Linked DNA regions of Homo sapiens: all the other regions are linked to region 3. Evidence: promoter capture Hi-C in human tissues and cell types (Jung and others, 2019). All regions are on one chromosome and are shown on one strand. The core of a region is centred on a gene start or on the middle of the fragment in contact, and the rest is flanking DNA. Distances in the headings are between cores, read along the strand shown.

Region 1 (4,275 bases), core at 214-2,713, 170 kb before region 3:
GGCTATTGGTGAGAAGAATGGGGTCAGGGACTGGGAGATTCATGTCAGAGTGGATCTGAGTTAGGTCATGGATGTTTAAGATTGGTTCCTGAAAGACACCCACCCCAAAACATTAATCTTTTCAAGCTGAACAAAGAAGTATTTGATTTGAAGAGCAAGAAATGAAAGTGCTTTTACAGTTTAAAAAAATAAAAAGAAGAAGAATCAACAGTTTATCCCAGTTGACAGTAATACCAGGGCCAAAAAAATTGGGGAATTTGAGGAAAGAATAGGGTCTCTCACCTTCAGAAAACTATCAAGTTCTAATAACTTCTTTGGGAAAAAATTTGCCACCAAGTCTTCTGCCTAAGGAAGAGGGAAAATACAGCTGAATTAATATCTGTGGGAAGGTCTCTCTCTCTCTCTCTCTCTCTCTCTCTCTCCAGGTATCTCCTCTTTGGGAAATTCTCAACCAACAACCATTTTTCTATTTATTTCACTCACCTCACTTGTGATCCGCTCCCTGAAAGAATCAACCTAAAATTAACAAAGAGAGCAATTCAGTACCTGGGGACAGAGGTAAGAGCAGGATGGAGAATCCCAATCCAACTGTCTTTCCCTCACCTTGTAACTGTAATAAGAAGCTGAGAGGCCCCCAGACTGCAAATACTTTATTTTTTTGAGGATCCATTTTTCCATCTCAGAAGAACGCAGGGCTTTGAGGACAGCACCTGCCTGTCTCCTCTGTCCTCCCCCTTCCCTCCCTTCCTCCTGTGTCTGAAGCTGTCTGAATTTGATAAGCAGACAAAAGACAGGTAGTTAGGGAAGATGTGAGCTCACAAACGTGCCAACCCCCACCCAGACCTAGTCTATGATACTAGGCAGGCCAGCCGCCAAGGGCAGGGGCAGTGTCCAGGGACGTTGTTGGGCTGGGGGATTACCAGCTGTCACGGGCCTAAAGCCCTGAGTCCAACACGTGTCCGCGGAGGTGTCCCCGGGACTCTCCATCATCAGACGCGGTACAGAAAGCCATCCTATATTTTCCTCTCCCGCGAAGCCGACCCCGGGAGTTGGGGGCTGGGCTGAGCCGAGCGGAAGCTCAGAGCTGGTATCCCCAGGGAGACAAAGACGCCATGGGGAGTAGGAAGCCGGTCAGACTGCTGGGGGATCAAAGCGAGGGGCAAAAAGGCCGGACCGGTGCCGCTACCTTGAGCTTCACTTCCTGATCCACCTTCAGCAACGAGGCCATGGCCGGGCCGGGCCGTGTCCGATCCTCTGGACACCGGAGGCGCTGTGGACTCCAGGGAGGGGGCCGGAGGGACCTGAGAAATCTCGGCTGACCTCGGGACCCGACCGCCCTTGCTGGCTTACTCACTGCTCGCTCGCTCCCTCCCTCTGTGCCGTCCGCCCGCCCGCCGGCAGCCTGCTGCCTGCTTGCTCTCTCGCTCGCCCTCCCGGCTTTCGCCGCTCACGCCGGAAACTGCGTCACAGCCAATCGCCGAGACTCCTGCGAGGCTGTGCACGTGCGCTGCGCAGCCGCGATGAGGCATGGCTTTGGACGCTCCCAGCGGGGTTCACACTGCCGGGGTCAAGTGTCGGGTAGGGGTAAAGTAAAAAGGAGAGCTGTGGGGAATGGTGCGCTGAGAACTGAGCCTCCGAGAGACTCGGAAACGGTGCGGCCCTCTCTGTTGTCCCGGAACTCGCCTTCACCGAAGGGACCTTCTCAGCCGCTGCACTCCCGGGGACAACGCCGTCGCGCCCCAGTGACGTAGGCTCGGGGAAGTCGGGGACCCGGGTACTGGGTTCGGGGGTGTAGTCCCTGATTCCCGCTGCCTCTGCCCGTTTGCCGAGGCTCAAGTGTTTAGGCTAGAGCGAAAAAGACAAGCGCCGTTGTACCAAGCTTTCCTGGTACATTTCCCTGCCAACTGATTCTCGTAAGCTTCCAGACCTCAAAGATCAACTACCTAATTGGCAAATTGATCCCCAGAGTAGGGTAGGGCTTGTCCAAGGCGTTTCCAGTACATCCTGAGCCAGAACCCAGATCTCCTAACTTCTACGGCAGTGCTGTATCTATTTGCCTAGTGGAAGCATGAGACTATACCTCTTCATGCACCCATTCATTCGATCTCTCTCTCTCGACATTGGATATATCATTCAATAAAATGGGGCAGGGCACTGTGTCAGATTCTAGAAATATGTGAGTCACATATGTAGGTTGAAATCTTCTAGTAGCCACAATTAAAAAGTAAAACAAGTGAAAATTTTAGTCATACATTTAACCCAGTTTATACAAGTATTTCAACATGTAATCAACATTTAAAAATCGAGATCTTATGCATTCTTTTCTCATACCAAGTCTTCAAAATCCAGTGCGTATTTTACACTTAACTGCACATCTCAATAAGGCAACACCACATTTGTAGTACAGTGCTCAGTAGCCACATGTGGCTGCTGGCTTCTGTATTGAAGAGCACAGCTCTGGGAAATCAAAGGCAAACAAGATTCAAGGTCGCTGGTCCCATGGGGCATAATATTGGAAAAACACCAGAAAGTAAACTGACAAGGTAACTGCAAAATTTGATAAATGTTAGGGAAAAAGTGGATGACATAGAAAATACGAGAGATCTATTTTAGATCGAATGGCCAAGGAAGGCCTCTGAACAGGCAAGCTGTGATCTAAAGGATATAAAGAGGTTAGCATGGAAAGAGTGAGAAGAGCCTTGAGAGGTATAAGGGCAGCTCAGGCAAATGCTCTAGGGAAGGAAAGAGATTGTCTTGAAGACAAAGACTAGTGAGCTGAGGGTGAGGAGGGTTGTTAGTAAACAATCTAGATTAAGTGCAAAAGGAGGTCATCAGATTTGTATTTTGGGGTCGCTCTTGCTGTTGAACATTTATCCTAGGCTGGCCTCTCTACTAAGTGCTAGGAAAATGAGGGGAATACACAATTAAATGGAGTAAAGCACAGAAGACTGACTATGGCCTTTGGGATCAGAGACCTGGGCTTCAAATCCCACCTCAGCTCCTTACTAACTGGAATCTTGGGCAAATTATTGAAATGCTGAGTCTCGATTCCCTCATCTGTAAGATGGAATTTTAATAATTAGTAATAAATAATAGTATGTAATTTTGTAGTGTTGTGAATATTAGAAATAATATATGTAAAACAATTAGCACAGTGCTTAGACACAAAATAAATAGTAGCCACTGTCAGGTAAGTAAGTGATCTGTTAATGCTTAGCATGAAGAGGTTACTCCTTAAATTACAGTAATTATTTCCATTCCTGCTTTCAAGCTCAAAGTCCTTTTCAGCTTATAGAAGGCCACATATAACATCATGCTCTATCAGTTTTCCCCCTTTTACATGTTTTCTGTTAACACATTTCCCTGGGAACTTTTGAGATCCGATTTGAAACTTCAGGAATTATTTCCCACATTTACTCCATTCTATTTTAAGTATGCCACTATTCTTATTCCAGTCAGAATTTATAACATCAACTGGAAAAGCTAATATGTTTGTGCCTGTTAAAATATGCTTTGTTCTCAAATAATTATGTTTTGTCTCCTTCAAGTAGGTTATAAGACAGATACACATTCTCTTTATTTCCCTTCCTCCTCCCCATCCAAGTGTTTAATATAATACTCCATTCATTTGTTTATTCAGTGAACAACTGGAGAGTACCACTACACTTAACAATAACTATTCATTTCTGGGTGCTTACAAGTCACATGTGATCACTGATGACTGGTCTAATTTTAAATTCATGTCCCAAAATCTCAAATGAGTGCACAACACTGCCTGAGCTCCTACTACATGCTCCTGACAAGTTTGCTCTCCCACCCTCCCAATGACTATCATACTTTCTCATCTCCCTGAACCTCCAGTATTCCTTCTCTCCCACCTCCAACTTATGGCCTGGGCTCATTCTTTATTGAGAAAACAGAAGCAGATGAGAACTACCTCATCATCTCACCACCAAATCTGCCAATCTGCAAAATACTTTCTGCCTTTCCTCTTTCATTGAAGGAAACAAACCTGTTCCTATCTCTTCCTTTTGTGCTTTGGATTCCATCCCCTTTGACTTTCTCAATCCCATGTCTGTGCCCATGATTAGCCCCTCTTTTTCCTACATCACATCCTCTGCTGGGTCATTTCCAGACATAACCAATATCCCCTATCTTGAGAAAACTCCCCCCCGAATCCAGATTCCTCTGTAGCTGTTACTCCCTTTCTGTGCTCTCCTTCCTGGCAAGACTTCTTGAATTATTTATTGTCTCTTACTCTACTTCCTCATGCCC
Region 2 (4,173 bases), core at 971-3,470, 140 kb after region 3:
GGAATGTCTGAACAGGAGGACCTTGGGCAGGGTTCCCTGAACTCTGCTTCAAACCCCACTGGAAACAGAGCAAAGATCATCACGAAAACCCAGGACACCAGGGCAGGGGGGCTGCACAAGGTCGGGTCAGGTCACAGTGGGCCAGCACACAGTGGCCCCGCCCAGGGCCAGCCCAGCCTGGGAGAGGGGATGAGGGCTCCAGGCAGCTCACTCAGAAAAGCCAGGGTAGGAGGAGGGCACCAGCCTGGCCCACTCAGGGAATTCTTTCTACCACTGAAAGCGGTGGGGATTAACTTAGCCAGGGCTGCCACGCCAGCACACGATTACAAGGTTCGGGGTGACAAGGAGGAAGCCCCTTGGCAGGACTGTGCAGCCCTCACAGCCACATGCACGGCAGCCCTGCCAATGGCTTCCAAACAGCAAACCATCAGTGACACTGACCTTCCCTGCCCAGGACACCCCTCCTGAGACCTGGGGCCAGTGTGGTGAGGAGGGGGCACTAGGGGCGGAGCCAGGCAGGCTGCAGGCAGAACCAAGAGGACCCCAGTCCCACACTGAAGACATCATGATTGGGGGTGGGGAAGATCTCAGGGTCTCCATCAGGGAAGAGCATCAGTCTGCACCCTCGGCCTGAGGGTGTGCTTGTGGGCAGGGCCCATGCAAGGCCTGGGAAGAAGCCAACCCCGAGAGAGGGAAGCCCTGTGCACTGCGGAGCAGCCAAGGCCTCTGTTCCAAGCATCCCGGCTGTGCTATGTAGTGCAGGGCATGAACGGGGAGAGAGGAAAGGATGGGAGTGCAGGGTGGGGTCAGAAAGGCGGTGTAGATATCCTATGACCCCTGGGGATGACAGGGAGAAGCCACTCATGATGGCCTAGTTGGGTCCAGCTGAATGCCAGGGGGGTGGGCAAAAGACGCAAATATCATCTTCCTGGACCCACCCCTGCTAATCCAAGAGTGGGACATGTTACCAGTGTCCCCTTCTAGGGAAGAATCTGTATTACTCCCCCCACTACTCCTGCTAGAAACTACGGTGGCAGATGCAGGGAACTCAAAGTCTAGATGTGAATGGCATGGGTGCTCCTTCCATCTACAATGCACGGGGAAGATGAAAGGGCTTTGGGATGGCGTGGGAATGCAGACTGGCTCACCACCAGGAGGTGGGAAGGGCTGTCTGGATGGATGGAGGCTAAGAGGGCAAGGCTGGTGCCCAGTGAGTATGAGTGACAGCCAGAAAATCACTACACTACACACAAAGCTAGGGGTGGTGGGAGACCCAAGGAGGACTATTCTATCTAAATGACTCACAGACAGGGTGACACGAATGAGCTGGTGCCCACAGATCACAACCAACAGGCAGAGAGGCACAGCTGATCACTGTGGAGGGAGGCGGGGAGGGTAGCATGGGGCACACGGCCCTCACAGGGACTCACTCTTCAAACTTCCCTTCCCGAATATGCTCGAAGGAGAAGGGTAAGAACTTGAAACCGGTCCCGCTGTAGAATTTATTCTGGAACTCAACCCTGGAGAAAGAGAAGAAGAAAGCTGTCATTCAATAGAAACTTTGTGAAGCTTTTTAGGACTTCACAGTTGGGCAGGAAAGATGCCCCGTGCCCACCTCACCCCGAGCCTCCCTTCCCTGGGGAAGCTAGAGAAAGCCCAGAGTGCAGAGATCCCACTTTTAAGGCCTGGGATCAAGAGTTCGACGCACGGAGGAAGGGATTTGCCCTCAGTTCCCAATCTTGCTCTGTCCTGCCGAGCAGTGTGTTTATGCACAACTCTCTGCAGAGAGGCATGTGCAAAAAAAGTTCAGTTACCTTGAGCCTAACATCGTTAATGAACAAGTGGCCCCCATCGCCCCCTCCTGGCAGGGGATCACACAGCCCACCTCTAAGGGAAGCCCCTCCAGAGACACTGGGCAAGCACCTCTGTTTGCTTGTTATTTTTCCTTGGGGGAGCAAAAGGGCGAGCTTGGAGTGAATGTTGAAGGCTTTCCATTTAAGGAAGGAAATTCCAAGGAAAGAGGGGGAGTTAGGAGGGGAAGTCTTCTCAAAGCAATGGCAAAAATATTCTCCAACCACAAAAACATCTGAGAAAGAATTCTTCTCTTGGGGACTAAAAAGAAAAAGCCTGAGCTCCCTTCCCAGCAGTTCAGCATCCATGCCTGATGGTCTCTGTGGGGCCCTTTCACTCTCAGGGAGGGTGGGAGGAAGACTGTCCCATAAGCAGAGCGAGGCTGCTTGGCTGTGCTTCCTCCTGCAAACTCACCCTGGACAGCTGCCCAGCAACCAAACCACACCAAATAAGGGCAGAAAAATGCATGATTCAGGGGATAAAAAGGCCAAGGAGAGCTGCCCTGAGGAATAGTTTCCACATGGTGCTGTGTGACCCTGGAGGCACCGGAGCCCCTATAAGAACAGGCAGGCGTGGGGGCTGGGGCAGGCTCCAGGTGACAGGTCACGTGCAGGGTGAGGGCTTTGAGGCGCTTTAAAGCTTCAGGAACCCTCTAGTTCCCTAACTCAGCTTTTACAAATGGAGATTCCTCCCTCCAAGCCAAGAAGGCAGGAATTAAGAGAACAGGGGCTGGGAGGTGGCTGGGGCCCAAAGGTTACAGACTGTTTGCCAGTGGCACTGGGAGTTCCTCAGAGGCCCCTTCACTGGGGTGCAGGCTGAGGAGCACCCCCTTGAAGAAGAGCGCAACCGAATTTTCTGAGTGGGAGTAAAAGCAGTCAGCTTTCTTCCCCACATCCCCACATTCCACAGGGGTGGGCCAAGGTCCTCCAGGAAAAACAGGACTCAGGAGGGGGAGGACACAGAGCTTCCAACTGACGTTAGCTGACGGTTCCCACCAGAGCAATTCCAAACCAGGACCTGGATTCACCCACGTCCCAACACCCCACCAAAACTACTTCTCCAAGTTCCAGCTACTGAGACCACCTCTGAGGGAACGCGGTGGGGCCTAGCAGTGGGTTCCTGCTTCTCACCCACTTGTGTTAGGTTTGAATTCTTCATGTTGAATAGACTGTGTTCCCATGTGGCAAGGGTTATTTCAGAACAGCTGAAACGAGATTTACATGTCCCCTTTTCATTCAACAATACATAGCCAGAGAGTGGACAAGTCACCTGAGGGTCCCAGGCCATTACCTAGGAGTGAATGTCAGCCTTGGTAGGGTATGCTGACCCCCGACTCCAGTGAGGTGTCCAGAACTCTGACCCCCACCCCCTCCTGGCTAATCACAAAACCATTCTAATCTTCAAACTGGGCAAATGGAGCAGCAGCTTTGTTTTCAGATGCCTGTGGGGGCACCGCCCTTTTCTTGGCACCCCTCCAGTCACCTTATCTACCCATGGGGGCCCAGCAAGGAGGAAGAGGGATATATGCCTGGGAGGGGCACATCAATTGTACTGTGTGAGCAGACAGGTGGCCTCCCTGACATACTGCCCAATACTGCCCCTCCCACCAGCTGCTGCTTTAGAGACTTAGAGCGGCCAGAACTGGGACATCTTGGGTCTATCTTGAGGTCAGCCTGATTTCACCTCCTTCCGTGGCCACCCTCACCCCAACCACCCAGCACAAAGCTGGAAAGCAATTTCCCTGCTAGTCTCCCCACTCTCTCCCGCTGAACTGGGGAAATGTGTGCTTCCTGAGAAAGTACAAACATGAAGTTCCCCAGGGCAAGGGGGGCCCCATCTGCCATCCTAGGTTCTTCCTTCTTTTTGGGCATCTCCACTGCTCTGCTCAGGGAGCCTCCAAAGTCTTGCCATGCCCCAAGACACTGAAATGCACCTCTAGAATTCAACAGCTGTGAGGAGAGCCTCAGGACGCCAGATGAGTGTCTCTATCATCTCTTCCAGCTCCAGCACTTGGCAAAGGCCACCTGGTGACTCAGAGGGATTAACTGGGGCCAAAAGACATCATTCATGCCACGTAACAGGAACTCTGTTTCCTCGAGTGGGTGAAGGAGGAAGGAGTCTTGGGGCCGCTTCCCTTCCCTGGTGGGGGTTGTGACTGAGGGCAGGCAGTCTGGAAAGACAATTCTGGGCTGAGCTGTTTATGTAGCCTGTTCTGCCACTCTCTGTGCCGTTCAGGGCCTACAACACACATCTGTCTGACGGCCTGAATATCAGGGCAATGATGGCAGCCTGGAACTACATTTCAAGAGTTCTGAGTTCTCC
Region 3 (4,030 bases), core at 683-3,182:
GGAGCTGTTCTGGAGCTGTTTCAGAAACCAAGGACAAAAGGTCAAATATTTTAACAAAACATACTATTATTGCTCTAGTCCCTTAGGAAATTACATGGGTTATAAGAGCTGTAAGCCAGGAACATATCGCACCCAGCATGGGGAGAGATGGAGAGGCAGTCTCCAAGGATCTGGGGGAGAGACTTCGGCTTGGTTCATTCTCCATTCCCAAAACGCCAATGTCTCAAAGCTTCCTCTTATGCATCCAGGCTGAGGCTCCTTGGGAAGGTTTGGAGCTGGAGAAGCAGCTGAATGACTCATGCCTAAGGGGCCGGTGCCATTCAGATTTATGACTTCCTTGAGAACAAAGATTATATCTTATTCACCTCAATATCCCACATCTGATGCTCCATAAACGGGTTTTGAATTGAATTGCTCCCCTCATATTACCTATCCAGGCCACCTCCTGACCTGTCCCCAGCACTCTTCGGCCTCCCTGCCCATTCCTTCCCCCACTCCATAACTTCACCTCCAAACTGTCACTTCCATCTGCTTCTCGGTCTATGATGTCAAAGATGTCTTCATGAATTTTCTCACCCTGTATAGAGATATGGAAAGGGAGGGTCAGGCCAAAGGTTCCAGAGAGCATCTTTTCTCAGCACAGCACCAAGAATTCTGTCTACCCTGGAATATTGTTGCCACCCTGAAGCAGAGCCTAGGCTGTAGCCCTCAACCCAGAAGTGCTACTATTGCAAATGATTTGCACAAAATTTGCATAAACCTCTCCCTGGCTGTCCCTCTTGTTCGGGACATCCTTTTGTCTCTTATTTTCTGTCAGTCAGGTCAAATTCCTAGTAGCTTGAGCCTGCCTTGCCTCTGGATGGGAATATCAAAGGTCTCTGGAATGGTCGCTAGGACACCTGGGAGAATCCGCTGGCCCAGTTGTTGCCAGCTCCTCCTCCATGTTCCGACAGGTAGATGTTCTCTGGGTTGTAGAGCTTGGCATAGGGGGAGTTGAGGATGGAGTGGATCACCCGGGGTTCCAAGTCCAGCAGCACGGCCCGGGGGATGTAGTGCTCATCGTCTGCCTGTCAAGGGGAGTCCAGGAGGGGGCCCAATCAGCTAGGGCGGCCCAAGTCCGAAGTCCTCCCAACTCTGGCTCCCTCCGGCCCTCCCTCCTCAAGCCAGCCGCCTGGCCCTACTGCCCAGCGGGGTTCCCAGTACCAGGCCACTCCCTTCCCTTCCGCCCCCTTGGGCCACTGCCGCCCCCGGCCAAGTCGCTGGGGGCACCTGGTAGAAAAAGACGTCCTTGCGGTCAGTGCCCTCGGTGGCGAATTCCTCCACGATGCCCTCGGGGCTGATACCATGCTCGGCGCACAGCTGTTTCCAGAACTCGAACCCAACTGGGGGAGGGGGGAGATGCCCGGGTCTGCTGGAGCCTTAAGGCCTGAGGAGCCCAGTTTTAGTCTCAGAGGCTGACACGATCAGAGGGTGGACCCAAGATGCCTGGGTTTGGTAGCTGCCCCAGCCCCGGGCTGGAGGCGCAGCTCTCGGTCTGGGTTATCCAGAGCAGCAGGGCAGGGGGTTCATGGAAGGGAAAGGGGGACTGGTGGAAGCCAGGCACTTGGGTGGGACCCGAAGGGGCAGAACCAGAGACCGGCGGGGCCGGCGCTCGCTTGCTCACTCTGGTTGCCGCACTGGCCCAGCTGCAGGGTGATGATCTCCCGGGGCATCGCTCTTCAGACGTGGGCGCGCCAGCCCCGGCCTGGCGAGAGTCACGGCTGAGACGAATGCCCGGCAGCCAGGAGCGCAGGACGTGGGGAGCGCGCGCTCTCTTCGCCTCTTGACGCGGATGCTCGGTCTGCGCGTGTGCAGCGCAGGCCTCTCCTCGGCCGGTGGGCCGGGGAGCCCAACCTGGGCATCATTTTCTCCCTCAGCAGTCGCAGCTGGAATTCCGCACAGGCGCAGAGTCAGGCCACGCCCGCTCCTGCCCACCGCTCCGCGCCTGCGCAGTGAGACTCGTTGGGGGTGGCAGGGTCGGAACCTGGATGTGTTGGGGAGGAGAGGAACGGGGGAGGGGAGGAAAGGGGAGAAGCGGCCAGGTGGATGTGCTTGTCCACGTGTAAGGAGTCATCTACCTATATTGGTAGGTGAGGACACTGTCAGCTTTGCTAGATCAAAGGGCTAGAAGCCAACTTTTCTTCGTTTAAATTTCTGTTTTTTAATGGTGTTACAATACATACACATGTATGTTACCTTTTTATTTTTTAGAAGGGTCTCGCTCTGTCGCCCAGGCTGGAGTGCAGTGGCGCGATCATAGCTCACTGTAGCCTTGAACTTCTGGCTTAAGTGATCCTCCCACTTCAGTCTCCCGAGTAGCTGGGACTACAGGCGTGTGCTACCACGCCCAGCTAATTTTTAAATTTTTAAAATGTATTTTTATAGAGATGGGGATCTCACCGTGTTGCCCAAGATGGTCTTAAACTACTGGCCTCAATCAATCCTCCTGCCTTGGCCTCCCAAAATGCTGGGATTACAGGCATGAGCCACCACTCCTGGCCTAAATTTACCATTGTAACCATTTGTAAGTACTGCATACAGTTCTGTGGCACCAAGTACACTCACATTGTTCTGTAACCACCACCACCATTCTTTTCTAGAACTTTCTTATCTTCCCAAACTGAAACTCTATCGCGATTAAACAGTAACTTCCCCTTGACTACTCTAGGCACCTGATATGAGTGGAATTATACAGTATTTGTCTTTTTGGGTCTGGCTTCTTTCACTTAACATAATATCTTCAAGATCCTTCCATTTCGTAGCATGTGTCAGAATTTCCTTCCTTTTTACAACTGAATAATATTCCATTGTATAGATGTACCACATTTTGCATAACCATTCATCCCTCCATGGACATTTGGGTTGCTTCCACCTTTTGGCTATTGTGAATGTTGCTGCTTTGAATGTGAGTGTACAAATATCTGTTCGAGTCCCTGCTTTCAATTATTTTGGATATACACCCAGAGGTAGAATTGCTGGATCATATGGTAATTGTGTTTAATGTTCTGAGGAATCGCCATACGATTTTCCATGGTAGCTGCACCATTTTAAATTCCCACCAGCAATGCACAAGGGTTCAGTTAAATAAATTTTATAGGAGGCCATTGATTTGCACTGAGCTCCTGTGCTTGGCTCAACAGACCAAACCAAAATGGAGTCACTCACGCTAAAGTTCTATGTCACTAAGCAACACTAAGTTGTTTATCAAACCTTCAGAGGAATCAGGAGAGGGAAGGAAGAGCCAAAACCCCAAACAAGCCAGTGTGAGCCGGCATGATACGGAAGTCCTTTTACAAGAAAAGTAACTTTGAAAGGACCCATCTGCTTTTTTTCCTTCTGTTTCTATTTTTCTCTACCCTTTTTTGTCCATAAAAACTAACCTGTGCTTGACTCATCTGAACACTCATTCTATTTATTTTATGGAATGAAACGTAGCCTGATCTAGAATCACAAACACTGTAAATGCCACTTAAGATTTTTTTTTTTTTTTGAGACTAAGTCTCACTCTGTTGCCCAGGTTGGAGTGCAGTGGCATGATCTCGGCTCACTACAACCTCTGCCTCTCTCAGGTTCAAGCGATTCTCCTGGCTCAGCCTCCCTAGTAGCTGAGATTACAGGTGTGCACCACCACACCCGGCTAATTTTTTTGTATTTTCAGTAGAGACAGGGGTTTTGTCATGTTGCCCGGACTGGTCTCGAACCCCTGAGCTCAGGTAATCCACCTGCCTCAGCCTCCCAAAGTGCTGGGTTACAGGCATGAGCCACCATGCTCAGCCAAGTAGCCAAGTTACAATCTTTTTTTTTTTTTTTTTTTAGATGGAGTTTCGCTCTCGTTGCCCAGGCTGGAGTGCAATGGCTCGATCTCAACTCACCGCAAGCTCCACCTCCCGGGTTCAAGCGATTCTCCTGCCTCAGCCTCCCAAGTAGCTAGGATTACAGGCATGCACCATCACGCCCAGCTAATTTTGTATTTTTAGTAGAGACGGGGTTT

What was found. The method cuts DNA at HindIII sites, captures the fragments that hold promoters and counts their contacts. A contact is called where the count stands out against the background at its distance.
Region 1: the fragment with the promoter of PSME3 here is called in contact with the fragment with the promoter of TUBG2 in region 3 in 2 of the 25 tissues and cell types used here (lymphoblastoid cells and neural progenitor cells).
Region 2: a contact is called between a fragment that was not itself captured here and the fragment with the promoter of TUBG2 in region 3, in 1 of the 25 tissues and cell types used here (spleen).

The regions. Positions count from the first base shown.
Region 1 is chr17:42,830,585-42,834,859 of GRCh38, reverse strand. It overlaps PSME3 (proteasome activator subunit 3), which reads right to left and starts at 1,463. Exons shown (of 11, transcript NM_005789.4): 1 at 1,187-1,463; 2 at 484-516; 3 at 283-345; 4 at 1-88. The coding sequence starts at 1,228. RefSeq lists an enhancer at 1,646-1,815. The HindIII fragment of the contact is 9,549 bases long and covers 1-4,275 here.
Region 2 is chr17:42,518,374-42,522,546 of GRCh38, reverse strand. ATP6V0A1 (ATPase H+ transporting V0 subunit a1) reads right to left here. Exons shown (of 22, transcript NM_001130021.3): 22 at 1-1,520. The coding sequence ends at 1,427. Among named protein-coding and RNA genes, the nearest start is that of MIR5010, 6.3 kb to the right of the region's middle. The HindIII fragment of the contact is 4,137 bases long and covers 152-4,173 here.
Region 3 is chr17:42,657,186-42,661,215 of GRCh38, reverse strand. It overlaps TUBG2 (tubulin gamma 2), which reads right to left and starts at 1,932. Exons shown (of 11, transcript NM_016437.3): 1 at 1,664-1,932; 2 at 1,270-1,382; 3 at 900-1,067; 4 at 509-577. The coding sequence starts at 1,712. RefSeq lists enhancers at 1,716-1,785, 1,836-1,905, 1,916-1,975, 1,333-2,100. The HindIII fragment of the contact is 23,957 bases long and covers 1-4,030 here.